Linked DNA regions of Homo sapiens: regions 1, 3 and 4 are each linked to region 2. The links are contacts of gene promoters, found by promoter capture Hi-C in blood cells and fetal thymus (Javierre and others, 2016). All regions are on one chromosome and are shown on one strand. Each heading gives the region's core, a stretch centred on a gene start or on the middle of the fragment in contact. The rest is flanking DNA. Distances are from core to core; before and after follow the strand shown. Region 1 holds the start of CCDC138 (coiled-coil domain containing 138). Region 2 holds the start of ACTR3 (actin related protein 3). Region 3 overlaps LIMS1 (LIM zinc finger domain containing 1). Region 4 holds the start of GCC2 (GRIP and coiled-coil domain containing 2).

What was found. The method cuts DNA at HindIII sites, captures the fragments that hold promoters and counts their contacts. A CHiCAGO score of 5 or more calls a contact.
Region 1: a contact is called between a fragment that was not itself captured here and the fragment with the promoter of ACTR3 in region 2, in 1 of 17 cell types (fetal thymus). The highest score is 5.2, in fetal thymus.
Region 3: a contact is called between a fragment that was not itself captured here and the fragment with the promoter of ACTR3 in region 2, in 2 of 17 cell types (activated CD4 T cells and M0 macrophages). The highest score is 5.9, in activated CD4 T cells.
Region 4: the fragment with the promoter of GCC2 here is called in contact with the fragment with the promoter of ACTR3 in region 2 in 2 of 17 cell types (naive CD8 T cells and fetal thymus); the score reaches 12.0 in naive CD8 T cells.

Annotation. Positions count from the first base shown.
Region 1 is chr2:108,783,415-108,787,077 of GRCh38, reverse strand. It overlaps RANBP2 (RAN binding protein 2), which reads right to left. Exons shown (of 29, transcript NM_006267.5): 29 at 1,269-3,482. The coding sequence ends at 3,177. CCDC138 (coiled-coil domain containing 138) reads right to left here and starts at 307. Exons shown (of 15, transcript NM_144978.3): 1 at 163-307. The coding sequence starts at 255. RefSeq lists a silencer at 1-498. The HindIII fragment of the contact is 573 bases long and covers 964-1,536 here.
Region 2 is chr2:113,888,183-113,891,559 of GRCh38, reverse strand. It overlaps ACTR3 (actin related protein 3), which reads right to left and starts at 1,471. Exons shown (of 12, transcript NM_005721.5): 1 at 1,237-1,471. The coding sequence starts at 1,280. ACTR3-AS1 (ACTR3 antisense RNA 1) reads left to right here and starts at 568. Exons shown (of 5, transcript NR_110174.1): 1 at 568-667. It overlaps LOC124906071 (a long non-coding RNA gene), which reads left to right and starts at 1,793. Exons shown (of 3, transcript XR_007087205.1): 1 at 1,793-3,377. RefSeq lists enhancers at 531-710, 761-810, 893-1,548, 1,581-1,670, 1,791-2,100 and silencers at 941-1,200, 1,441-1,500. The HindIII fragment of the contact is 5,488 bases long and covers 1-3,151 here.
Region 3 is chr2:108,614,839-108,618,253 of GRCh38, reverse strand. All of the region lies in intron 1 of LIMS1 (LIM zinc finger domain containing 1), which reads right to left. Among named protein-coding and RNA genes, the nearest start is that of LIMS1-AS1, 62 kb to the left of the region's middle. The HindIII fragment of the contact is 2,004 bases long and covers 862-2,865 here.
Region 4 is chr2:108,447,686-108,450,834 of GRCh38, reverse strand. It overlaps GCC2 (GRIP and coiled-coil domain containing 2), which reads right to left and starts at 1,629. Exons shown (of 23, transcript NM_181453.4): 1 at 1,555-1,629; 2 at 1,146-1,202. The coding sequence starts at 1,560. RefSeq lists enhancers at 1-138, 139-639, 725-1,706, 1,543-1,802, 1,707-2,689. The HindIII fragment of the contact is 5,578 bases long and covers 651-3,149 here.

The sequences.
Region 1 (3,663 bases), core at 1-2,500, 5.1 Mb after region 2:
CCCCTCCCGCCTGCTTCCACGAGGCCCAAGCCGCAGCCACGGCGGGAGTGCCGGGGCCGGGACCAGAGCCGCTGCGCGCCCCCAGGCCGGCTGCGCGGGGCACGGAGCGGGCCGCCCCCCAGCAGCAGGAGCCCACCCGCGGACCTCAGGCGGCGGCTTCACCTCGTCGGGGCAGCTGCCCCCGAGTCCGTAGCGGCTTTTGAGACTCTCCACTACTAAATCCTGCCCCGGTGGCTTGACGACCCTCGGCTCCATAGCACACAGCAACCGTACCAGTCTCCCCGGGAACCGCGTTCATCAAACCCGCGGCGCTACGCGGCCGCAGTGCGTCACGACGTGCCAGACCCCGCCCCCCCGAGGCACGCACGGCGGCAGGGAAAGGGCGGGGCGGGGCGACCCGGAGACTGCAGCCCGGCTTGTCAGCGCGTCCTCCAAGTTTCTCGTGCTAGCACTACACACCTCGTAACTGAGTAGTATTGCATCTCCCCGCGATAGTCCTGCCCCGGCTGCCTGGGTGCCACGGGTTGAGGGGCACCGAGGCCCCGCACCTGCCTGCAGCGCTCCGCTCCAGCTCCATTTAACCTGTTAAGTTTGGTGTGCGTTGCGCTCACCACATAGACCGGTCGTTCCATCAGAAGTGACCTTTGCTAACTGCCATATAAAAGAAAAACCAAGAGTATATCTGAGCCGGGAGTGGTGGCGCGCGTGTAGTCCCGGCTGCTAAGGAGGCTGAGGCGGGAGCATTGCTTTGAGCCTGAGAGTTACATCTATCTTGGGTAACATAGCAAGACTCCCATCTCTTAAAGTTAAAAAAAAAAAAAAAAAGGGAAAGCTGAGCATAGACATTGCAGATTACCTCACTTTCCCTGTGTTCCATATGGGGTATAACAGGGTATTAAAAAGAATAGTTAGAATGTAAGCACCCTGGAAAAAAAACTTTTTTTTTTTGAAAAGAAAAAAGCTTTTGCCAATACCTACAACAGTGCTAACCATAGTACATAGTATACATCAACCTGAAAACCTATGTTAAACAAAACTGACTGAGGGGAACTGTACAACCACTTCATTTTTCTCATTCATAAAATTACAGTGGTGTAATCTTTTACTTTCTAAATTGTGACTGTCAGCTGCATCTCTGGACTAACAACTCCTAAATTCTCTGGATTAAAGTTCCCAAATGCCCAAGTTTTATAAAATCTGTACTTCAGCAGTTATTATCTGAAAATTACTTAGGCCATACTTTTTGCCATAAAGTACCACTTAAGATGTACAAATAATGAATTTTATTCTATCTTTAAGCAGATTTTAATGAGACAACATAAAATCCAGTTTAAAAGGAAAGATACATATTATCGTGGGTTTAGACCACATCAGTGATTAAATAACAAAGAGAAATCAAAGTCCTTTCCTGAAATGTGACACAAAGACTTTCTCATAAATGCCACAAGCCACTTTTAAGCATCTTTGGAATACTAATACGGGAAAAGTCAGTTTACATGTCATTTTGTCAAATTTTTGGTCAAAGTTTTTAAAGCTTTTTAATTTGTAACTTTAGTGCTTTAGGAAAGCATACAAATCTGTAAAAAGTCTCTTAAAAAGCACTTGCATTAACTTAAGAATTTATTCTAAAATCATGACGAAGGCATCAACTGTCTCAGCTGAAAAGTTACAACACACTTTACATCAGTTTATATTACATAGATTTCCAAATAAGCCAATTTGAAATATTTAGTGTAAACATATGTAATCCATGGTTCAAGACTGAACTGATACATTTGGAGTAGGTTTATTTCAAGTATCTGGCTTTGTGGCCGAGTGGAATGGTGATGGTATACCATCACTCATTACTCGCACAACATCCCTCCCCTCTTTTGACTGGTGGTTGAACAGTTACTTGCTTTAGGATACCCAATTTCCAAATCCCCATGTAACAGGGAATAAACCTGTCTTTCCTCACTAAATAAAATGAGGTAATTTCACCCGAAAGAACACAGATGGGTGGAAGACAGTCAATATTCATAATTGCAATATACAAAATTTTGTGTTCTACCTGGATTCTTTGTAGTTCCATATTGAGTAGGCCAATAAGAACATCCTCTTTTCTTTAGCAATTTGCCTAACATTTGATACAAGCCATTTCCAAATACGTTTTTGGTGTGTATCAAACTTGAGAAACTAGGAGCTCTGGAAATTATGCAGCAGTTTGAATTTACTGCCTTTAAATTGTCTTCCTTACTTTAGAATGAACCCGAAGCGTAAGTAATGAATTTTTTGGATGTCAGTGGCTCTTAGGAATTGTCATTTTATTTCTGCTACAAAATTTACCAGAAAAAGGTACTGCAACAATCTTGTATAAAGCAAATCTTTAACGAAAGAACATGGTATAGACTTTCTAAAAATATTCATACTTTATCACAATAACTACAAGGAAAAATTCAATTTCTATCATCAGAACCAAGCTGCAGTTTCTGAGGTAGTAGAGACAGATGACAGAAAAGTTTGAAACAAAACCCCTAAAGGAAATAGTCAACTTGTTTAAAATGTAAAAATTAATCGAATATCTATGAAAGGGCACAGGAAGCTAGATATTTTAAGGAAGGAAGGTACGCTACTTACAAAGTTAACTTGTAACCACACAGGAGGTGTAAAGATTCTAGAGAAGAGCACTTTGGTTAACTCTATACGTTCTGTGGCTCTACCCATTCATAAACGAGTCTCTATGCATAAATGAGTACACCAATAGTTAAGATTACCAAATATATTTCAAACCTAAAATTAAATTATCCAAGTTGTGGTCCCTTTATTCAAATGGTAAGTATATCCATGCAGGAAGTCCAAATATCTTAAAAGGAATTAAAATTAAATTGCATATATCATATTCCTTCAATAGTTTGAGGTCTATTGCTTTTAACAAGATTAGTATTATTCCATTTTAATACGTCAGGAGTACATAAACACAAGTACACCTGAAATACACCAGTGTTTAAACTTTTATTTCACACCATGCAAGGTCAATTATAACACATTAAAAAGTGACAACAGCTATAAGCTGCAATTTTACATTTGTAAATCGGAAACGTCCATTTTCAAAAGCTGAACATAACTATCAAATTGTAATAGCTAAGCTTCAATCCAACTGCTTATACAGATGAAATTTTCTATGAACAACAATGATTTTATATCTGTCCACATTCTGTGATAGTTATTCTTCGACAAACAGACCCTTTGGGAGAACCAAATGATTCAATCTTTTTCACAGTATCCATGCCATCCTTAACAAACCCAAATACTACATGCTTAAAGTCCAAATGTTCTGCTTTCTTCAGTGTTATAACAAATTGAGAATTATTGGTATTCTGGCCTTGATTGGCCATGGATAGTAAACCAGGACCAGTATGTTTCACATCAAAATTTTCATCTTCAAATTTGTCTCCATAAATGGACTGTCCGCCTGTTCCATCATGTTTGGTGATATCTCCTCCCTGAAAAAAAGATTTATAATAAAAAAGTTAAAAATTTTTTTCAATTAATAGGAATCCTGAGTAAAATATTAAAATACACACAGAACTCATCACTACATGTTAAATCCTAAAGCCCAGCTTTCCTGAGTATAGTTTGAAAACTAAGAAATTCATATTGTTGGAAAGAAGATGAAAAATGAAA
Region 2 (3,377 bases), core at 222-2,721:
TCTGGGAATTGGAGAGATGTCATCAGCACAGAAAAAAAAACCACTTTCCTATATGTCATCCTGAAGCAGTGATTCTACATAAAAATAAGGGTAGTCTATTCTCTATGCAGTTATGAGTGTGGTACAACTCTCTAAAACGTCTATTAATACAAAATGAACGACCACACTTTAAAGCCACTCTACATTTTCGCAAACTACCCTACATATCTACGAGTAACTATTTGCAACTTAAACACCCTCCTATATACCTCTATACCTTCCTGCTTCCTTCAAGATACCATCACAGAATGAACGAATACAACTTAAATTAGTTTATTTTCCAGGGTGCTTCCTTTCCCCCACTCCATGAAACATAAGTACATTTTTTTAAGTCATATAAATGGACACCAAGCACCGGTAATTCAGTCTCTTTAAAACCTGCTTAAAAGTTCTAGTAAGATGTGCTCAGGTTGGAAACTAAAAACTACCTTATAAGGGTATAAAAGACTGAAAGCAGGAAGCGGCTTTGACAAAACTAAGGAAGTTGCAGCGCGCTTGCTCACTGGGGGACTTTTTTGAGGCTACAGAAGTAACACATGACATCTTTCTCCCTCGAATTAAAATGTGACTTGGTTCACCGGTTAAAACGCAGAGGGAGATGGAAATGACCAGGAGTCGAAAGGAGAAGGTGGGTGGTCAAATGAAAGCCCCACTGTAGGTTCCCATTTTCAGAGTCCGATTCTTCCCTTTCCCCACCCACACCCTGGGCAGAATGTTGTCACAGCGATCTTGTCAAACCTACCAGGAGCGCTTCTCTTTTCTAGCTCCCCTGCCAGGCCAGTCCCCGAGCTCGGCCCCTGGGTCCCCAAACCGACTGGCAAAAACGGGCGCGGAGGGAAAGGAAAGCCGGATGGGTCGGGCCCGGGGACCACCCCCAAGACGACCGTCCCCAGCGCCCTTTGGGCGGCGCTGCCCACCGTAGTGGGGGAAGGGCCGGGAGGGGTCGCGCGGAGAAAGCCGCTGGGAGGGTTGGGGGTTGAATCTCGGGCCCGCGCCCCCGCCCCAGTCCCAGGAGGGAGAAACGAGGGGACCCGCGAGGCCCTGGCTGCGGGCCCCACCCCTCGCTGGCCGGCGGGTCTAGGACTGACAGCCGGCGGCGGCACCTCGCCGCACCATTCATTTCCCGGCCTCCTCCCTCCCCCGCCATCTTCCTTCCTCCGCCTCAGTTTCCCCACCCCCGCCCGTAAGCCCCCTTACCCCGTGCCACAGTCCACCACACAGGCCGGCAGCCGTCCCGCCATCTTCCTCCTCGCCTGCTGCTGCTGCTGCCGCCGTCTGCTCCGTGCTGCTAGGGGCCAGAGATTGGCGGCGGGAGACAAGGGCTATCTGACCATCCACAGCTGGGCCGCCTTCACCGTCCGGGGGGTAGCCGGGAAGCCGAAGCAGTAGCAAGAAAGCAGCAGGCTCGGTCGGCGGCTATCACTTCCGCAACCCAGGCAGGCAGGCAGTCCCCGCCCTGCCCCGCCGCGGCCTCCTCCCCCTCTCTCTTCCCTCCTCCTCACTCCTGCCCCCACCCTACAACTTCTTCCCCTCACGCCGCCTTTCCCCGGGAAGCCAAGATGGCCGCCGGTGCCGACGCCCCGGCCAGGCCAGGCCCAGGCCCCCAGCGCTCCCCCTTCCGCTCCGAGCGGGAGGGGCTAGCGAGCATGCGCAATAAGGTACGTTCGCCTGCCTGGGCTCCGATCCTGAAGTTGGTGAAATCCACTGCGGGTTTTCCAGGAGTGTAGAGGCGGAGAAGTCTATCCGAGCTTCCAGTTCTGCTTCTGAAGCTGGAAGGGGCTTTTCGGTTGTAACCCTTGGGTTAGTTTCAGTTACTTCTTTGCTAGGTTGAGGAAAGGGTGGAAGCGCCTCCTGCAGCCACGAATATCCTCCAGTGCCTGAGAGAAAACGGCCTAATCGAAAACGTCCGCGGCATACATCCATTCTTAAAACTTGAGTGGCTGCTTTTCTGGGTGGAAAAGAGCGGTATCAGACAGGGTGAGCAGTCGGGGAACGGATGAACAAAGACTTGCACCGTGGCCCTGATGCCTTTGTTCCGAGTTCTATTCAGTTGTACTTGTGCGTTGTTACAGGACTTTAGAATGCAGCCCTGCCCCCCAACCCCCACCTCCCAGGGCCGACCTGTGCTCCTAGGAAGGCAAACCTCCCAGGAATATATTCTGCATAACTATACAAATAGGCCTTTATTCAAGGCTTTTGGATTATGACAAAGATTACCCTCAGGAGTAGTAAGATTCTACTAGCAGGATAATAGAAAGGATTAAGGCTCCCCTCCAAAGAAAATTTTTTTAAGTTAGAAACGGAGGCGAGCCGCAGTGGGTCATGCCTGTAATTTCAATGCTTTGGAAGGCCGAGGTGGGAGGATAGGATAGCTTGAGGCTAGGAGTTCGAGACCAGCCTGGGCAACATGGGGAGACCCCCCCCCATCCCTCCAAAAAAGAAAAGAAAACTGGAAAGCCTTAAAGAAACCTTTCAAACTTTAGTGTGTATCAGAATTACCTGAAAGGTTTGTTAAAACAGATTGCTGGGCCATACCCCCAGAATTCTCTGACTGGGCTATCGGAAATAATGCCTGAGAATGTGCATATCTAATAAGTTCCTAGTTCCACTTTAGGACCCTAGAAGGTTAGTATCTTTCCTCTCTACCAGGCTTATCTTAGGATGAACCGTTCGGGGTTTGCTGATGTGAAGCTAAAACAAAAATATTCTTTAAAAGGAGGGATGTCTTATTCAGTCCATAAGATCATCTAATGTATTAAGCTGGCTTGGGGGATGAATCGGGTGTTTCATTCATTCATTTGACAGGTAAGCATTGCTTACCTACTCTATTATGACGGGGTCTGTGCTGACTCCGAATATTCGGTGGGATGCAAAATAGTTAAGTGCTCTTGTAGAGTTTACAGATTAGCGGAAAACAGACAAATTGTGTTAAGAGCAATAGAAAGAAGAGAGCGGAGGACTCTGAGAAATGAAGGCGAGGAGTGGGAGAATGAGAGGAAGGTGGAAGGCAGGTAAGGAGTCTGACCAGCTGGTATTTAAAAGCTAAGATGGGGGGAAGAGTCTCCCAGGAGAGTGAACAGCAAGTGTCAAGGACCTGAGGCAGGAACAAGCTTGGCTTCTTCCACAAATTGAAAGAAGATCCATATGAAAGAGTCAGAGAAGATGCAATGGGAGATGAAGACTGAGAGATAAGGAAGAGTGAAACAGTGCAAGAATTTGTAGACTGCTCTAAGCATTTTAAAGTTTATCTTAAAAGCAGCTTGATAAATTAGATTTATGGTAATTAGTTTAAAAATAAAAATAAAGCAACTTGAAAGGATTTAGGCAAGAAAAAGTTG
Region 3 (3,415 bases), core at 614-3,113, 5.3 Mb after region 2:
ACAGAGGGAGGCCTGTATAAATGCATTTTCTGCGGGTTTCCAAATAGAGATATTTTTCATTTTAGCACTCTAAAAAAATCTTTGAAGGTCAGTCCAGACTCTCATTCAATGCAGAATTCCCCACCGTCATTTTCCCCATGGCCTCATCCCTATACAATATCTATGACCTGGGAGTTTGTCTCTTCATGGACACTTGCAGTGATGGGGAAATTACTACCTCATAAAACTCCTGGGGCTTTCCCCCACATGCCCAGTGGTTCTTGAGGAACAACAGTTCACAAAAACTGGGAATAAGACATTTGCCTTAACAATTGGTCTGGCCCTAATTACAACTTTCTGTCCTTTTTTCCAAACTGCTGGGTTCTCCTTGAATCTGTACTTTGACTCCAGCAGATCTCACACCCCCATCCCAGCTGAGAGGACTGGACTCCAGGAGTTTCCCAGACAGACTGTGCTTCCTCTCACTTTCTAGCCTTTGCACATATGGCTTGGTAAGACTGGAAGAAGGATCACTGGCAGGACTAGCTCCTGATCATCCCACTAAGACTCACTACAAGGATCATCTCTTCCGAGAAACCTTTCTAAACCCCATATCCCACTTACCGCTGCATCTATAGGGCCAGGGACATGGAAGACAGTCACGTTTGTTAAACAAGCTTTATGTTTTAGTTGTTCAACCAATTAATTTTGAGAGCCTAATCATTTTACAATGTCATGTTTGAGAAGAAATCTCCAGAGTTTTGAAGCTTTTTCATTTCTGCATGTAACACTCAATGTTACCTAAATGAGATTTTAAAAGACACACTTCTTCTACAGTATTGGAAAAATTTACTTTCTTGGTGAGACTAAAACTCTGAAGCTTTCATATTTGTGGAGTTGAACAGTACCTTCCACAAGTATAAACATTTTCCATTTGTGATAAGAATAAAAAATTAGCCTGGATTTTTGCCTAAACTTGTCATAGTCCAGCTTTTAGCATCCTGTTGCAATTAACCCCTTCAGATATAAGAGGGTAAAGAAACCTAATTAAACATCAAGCTGTAAATATGATCATTAATGTTACTGAATCATCAATTATTTCTCCTATACAGAGTTAAGAAAGCTGCAAGCTGGTTTCCATGGCTAACTGGGGCTCACTGCCAGTACACTAGGTACTAATGGCTCGTAAACTGGTTGAGCAGCTGTACATTTCCAGGCCATTAATTTCCCTGTGTGACATAAAGGAAGAATGTTATGTTTTGCAGCTAACTTTGCACTTGATGGAAATGAATCATTTTTAGTTTATGTTTTATCTCATAAATAATCATTTACAGGGAAAATCAAATTTTATCTAATAAAGCAAGAATATCCCTCCATACTATGTCCAACACACATTCATCTGGCAAACATTTATTTGCCAGCCAAGCTGTCTTCCTAAGTGAGGCCTCTCAAGACTGCTCTAGGCTATAAATTTGAAGGAAGAACAGGGCTATATATCTGCTGCAGAAAAGGGTTCAACGATGTACCATTGCGAGTAGGCTCAAGGTCAAGCTAACTGGAGCAGAGAGTATGAGAAGGCAGAAGCATCTGTCCACAAAAACTGTTCACTGTGTGGAAAAAAAAAATCATGAAAATATGGTCCCACTCACAAGCAGATAATATTGCAACTGTCTACAAGCCCCTCTGAACTTTCTCCTTAATCAGGCTTCCTGGACCTCTGACACATCTGACTGGACAGGCTGAGCTGTCATTAAAGCTCATGTGAGGCCAGTGTGGTGGCTCACGCCTGGGATCCCAGCAATGTGGGAGGCCGAGGTGAACAGACAGCTTGAGCCCAGGAGTTTGAGACCAGCCTGGGCAACACAGTGAGACCTTATCTTTGCAAGTAATACAAAATTAGCTGGGCGTGGTGGCGAGTGCCTGTAGTCCCAACTACGAGGGAGACTGAGATGGGGGGATCATGATCACTTGAGCCTGGAAGGTCGAGGCTGCAGTGAGCTATGGTCACACCACTGCACTCCAGCCTGGGTGACAGAGTAAGACCCCTATATCCAAAAAAAAAAAAAAAAAAAAAAAAGCCCATGCAAACTTGCCTGTGTCATTCTCATACAGCAGCCTCTTCCACAACCAGCAACATGGGGCCATCAACAGTCTTCAATTTAGACCATTATCAAATGTTCTCAAAAGCCACTGATACAATATGCAAATTTTCCAGGTATATTTCCAAATAATTTAGAATGAAATTCTAAGTAACCTATCCAATCCCACGTTTTCAAGGGGCCAAGGGAGAGTACAAGGTAGGTTAGTGGAAGGATACAAGAGGTGACCAGTAGACATTTAGCTGACAGTTCCACGTTTGGAAACTCCCTTGCTGTGACTACCTTATAAGTACACAGGAAGTCATTTAACTATCACAGTCCTCCATTGTTCCACTTGAATCAGAAGTGGCTGAATTAGGTGACCTCCATGGTCTTCTCTGCAGGCTAACATTACTTGGTTTTCAGACAGGACCTGTGCAACATGACTCCCTGACTAAGCACACTTTTCTCCTTCTTCATATAGTCAGAAATCTCATTCCTGAATAAAGCAGGTACACATGGGCAGGCTCTGCACATTCAGCAATTTCCCAAAGGCATCAGTGTGCCAGGCCTTTGGGGTGTGGAGGAGAACCCTGAACAGCCTCTGGGCTCCCCAGATCCTTCTCCATGAACACCTTTTCTTTGGTCACAAAGCTGCTTGAGGATAAGAGCTCTAGAGTAGATAAGGACCACAAAAAGGCATGCTGATCACCCTAGCCCCACCATACCCCCCACCCGACCCAAAGAGAACAGAGGGTCCTCCTCAACAGAGCGCTGACCTTTCAGGGAAGGAACACAGACAGAAGCTTGCAGCAGGACTGCACTTTTCCTCCCTGAGGGCAAAATAGAGGGTATCTCACTCAATGTAGTAAACTTGCTTCTGGAAAACTACATATAAAGCTAAAACTTTAGCACATAGAATAATTTTTCTTTCCCTAAATGAACTTATTTTTAAAAGGAATTCTAGTGGTACTCTTCACAAATGAGAGCTTTCCACAAATCCAGATTTTCCCATAATTTGACTTAAAACTAGATACATATATATGTATTGAAATCACTTTTTAGATATTGTTTCTATCCGTTCTGCCTGACCACCAACTATACATACAACTATACGCTATAGATTCTAGCGTATCTATATCTGCTCAGCATATTTCTAAACTAAATCGTCATTACAAAAAAATCCAATAGGTTAAATACTTCTGTGTGAGAGGAGAAATGTAACAGTTACTTGCAAGCTAACAGTTCCGATATTCTGAAGACCAGAAAGAACAAAAACGGTTCTTCTCCCTGCCCTGGAATTCAAGGGGTGTGTCTTAAAAAATAAACCACAATTCCTGCCCCACCCCAGTATAGGT
Region 4 (3,149 bases), core at 380-2,879, 5.4 Mb after region 2:
CTTGGCTCACTTGTAACCTCTGCCTCCCAAGTTCAAGCAATTCTCCTGTCTCAGCCTCCCAAATAGCTGGGATCATAGGCGCCCGCTACCACGTCCGGCTAATTTTTGTATTTTTAGTAGAGACGGGGTTTCACCATGTTGGCCAGGCTGGTCTCAAACTCCTGACCGCAGGTGATCTGCCCGCCTCGGCCTCCCAAAGTGTTGGGATTACAGGCGTGACCCACCGCGCCCGGCCACATTTTTTAAAATCAGCAAATGCAACGTCAATTCTGTAATTGCTATGCAACTACTAAAAATTAGTTATGCAACTACTATGAAACGTAAAAACCAGGCCATATCCTCTTATAGCTAATGTTACAGGTTGACATTGCTAGCTTTTGATTTAATTGTAAAATCAGTAGGTTGGAGCTAATGCTACTTAAAATTCCTTGGAGCTGTAAAATTATTTCATTCTATTCAAGGCTGCAAGTCTTTGGTCACAAGAAAATTTACGCATAATTACAGCAGCAAGATGAACCGGGTAACATTCAGGCTTTAATTAAAAAATTGAGCTTTACCACTTGAGAAAATTGCTTAAGCCTGTGGTCTCAGGTTTCTCATCTGTAAAAGGAGGGTAACAACAGTACCTATCTCATGGTTATCATGAAGCTTAAACGAAGGAACTGAGTGGTTAGGCAAGCGCCAGAAATTTAGCATGCACACAATAAACCTTAGCAATAAACCACTATCATTTAGAATGATTGAATGTTAAACATTGTACAGGGCCATAAAACTGGACTAATTAAACTCTTTGGCAATGTAGAAACTGGAGCCCACAGATCAGAATCCCTTGATTCCTACCCTATGTCACTGCTCCTTCCACTACACCACTATATAAACCTTCTTAGACTGCTTTATGTTCGAAAAATAGCAGGATCTCCCAGCAGTGCTAACCAGGAGCAGGAAGCAAACAAAAAGTCTTTCTATATCGGGGTGGGCGGGGGAGAAACAGGAAATGGGCGATTGCGCACACTAAAATTGAGATCCCTTGGAGCAAGGCTATTAAAAAAAAAAAAATCAGCGCCCCCCCCTTCCCCATGCCAAAGTTTTCCAATTCATCACCCTTCCACTCTTCAGGAAGCCCGCTATTCAAGTATTCTCTTCACCTTAGATTTCCCGGTCCCAGGGGTAGCTGGTGAAGCCACCCCATCTTGAACAAGATCCTGCAAAACAAAATCAAACCCAGGTGTCAGAAGAACTCTTTTCCTAATTCCACACGGAACGCGTAGAACCCTTACAGGGAAAAACCTTCTATGGAATCAAGTGGTGGAAAGCCTCGTGAGACAGAGAATGAGGGCGGACGGAGGCGGTCGCTGTGGCAATTCGTACACAAACGGGCTCTACGGGGCAGGTAACCCCCAGGGATAGAGTTTACGAAAGATGGGGAGGCGACAGCAGCGCGGGCTTCGGGACACCAAGAGGGAGACTACCGCGCCCTCCCATCGGGCCCACTCCCACATCCCAAATCGCGGCGCGGAAGGCTTGATGGGAGGCAGTGGGCCCGACCTGAGTTACCTCCATCTCCGCCAGCCCGCCGCCGGCCCGCAACCAGCCGCCGCCACCGCTGCACTTCTGTTTGCGCCAGCCTCTGACGTAGGCTCTACTGCAGGTCAAAGGTCGCGCTCTCCGGGCGGCCCGCCCCCCACGTCTCCATAGCTACAGCTCGGCAGCACTTCCGCTTCCGTGTCTGCGTCCGGGAGAAGGTTCCCCGTACGGCGCTAAGGGCGGAGTCCGTCTAGACGTTCTACCTGGGGCTCGACCCCTGGGCCTGCAGGTCACGGAGTAGGTGTGGGTCCCGCCACTGCCGGTTATTGGCATGGGAAGGCGGGCCGATTACCCCTTGGGGCCTCGGGCCTCGGTTTCCACGTCTGTAAAATCTTGTGAGAGTGAGGAACATTGGATTGCAGGACAGGTCTCTCAGTCCTCCAAAGGTGTCCGCTAGCCTGCGAGTGCCTGCGGGACCCACAGCTGGTTCCGGGGGGCTCCTTAGGCATTTGTGGCCAGCATGGTGCCCGGGAGCTCCGTGACTCACAGGTCAGGGATGCGGTAGAGGGCTTCCCTGAGGAGGCATTTCTTGACTCTGGAGGCTGTGAGGAGGTCCCTGGACAGCTCTGCCCTGCAGCCGCCCGGTACTGATGGTGATGTGGTGGAGGCAAGATAGTCGGCCAGGGAACTGGGCAGCCGTGGGAGGAGACTCTGTAGAGTAGGGGGCCCGAGGCCACCCTTTCCCGAAGGGCACGCCAGAGAATCTGTGGTCGAATCCCAGAGCTGCTGCTGTGTCCTGATTGGCGGTCCAGTGCTCTGAGAGCCTTTCTGTTAACTGCTGAAGTGGTTTGCTGCGCTTTCACCTTCCCATTAATGTTTTCCATACACTCCCATAACTAAGGTAACCTGAAGATAACCTAGTTTCCTGTAGTTTAAATGGTCAAAAGGTTGAAGAGGCAGCACACAGTATGTATCGAGTAAATGGTAGCTGATTATTACTAGGTAAAAGAAGTGTTATAAACGAGAAAGAACAGCTATTGTGGACATCTACTCTTTGTCTTTGACAGTGTGTATCACCTATGGTGTTTGTAGGATTGGTTCAGGGGTGGTGTGTGACCTAAGATGTACAGTCTCCACGTACAGTAACACACGTGTGTGTGTACACGTGTGTGTGTACACGTGTGTGTGTGCACGTGTGTGTGTGCACGTGTGCGCGCACGTGTGTGTGCACGTGTGTGTACACACATATATGCACACACATGTATACACACACACACACACAATCCCCAAGTATACATTGTTATTAATGGTCCAGATTAATGCCATTCAAAGTAGTTCCCCAAGTTAAGAGCAACTTACGGTAGACTCCTATTTCAATTAATAACTTGAAAAAATCACTTGCAATAAAATAGCAGGTTAACTAGATACTACACACATTCCAATCCTGTAAAAGTTTCTCAGAGAAACACTGTTAGATATAGTTACATTCCAGGAGTTTGGCTACATCAATAGCTACAGAAGAGTTGATGTTCTCACAGTAGAACTCTCTTTTTCTCATACTTGAAATAAAAAAGAACCTTTCTTTTCTTCCTTTGATCTTTCTTCCCTCGCCAGCCCTCCATTGC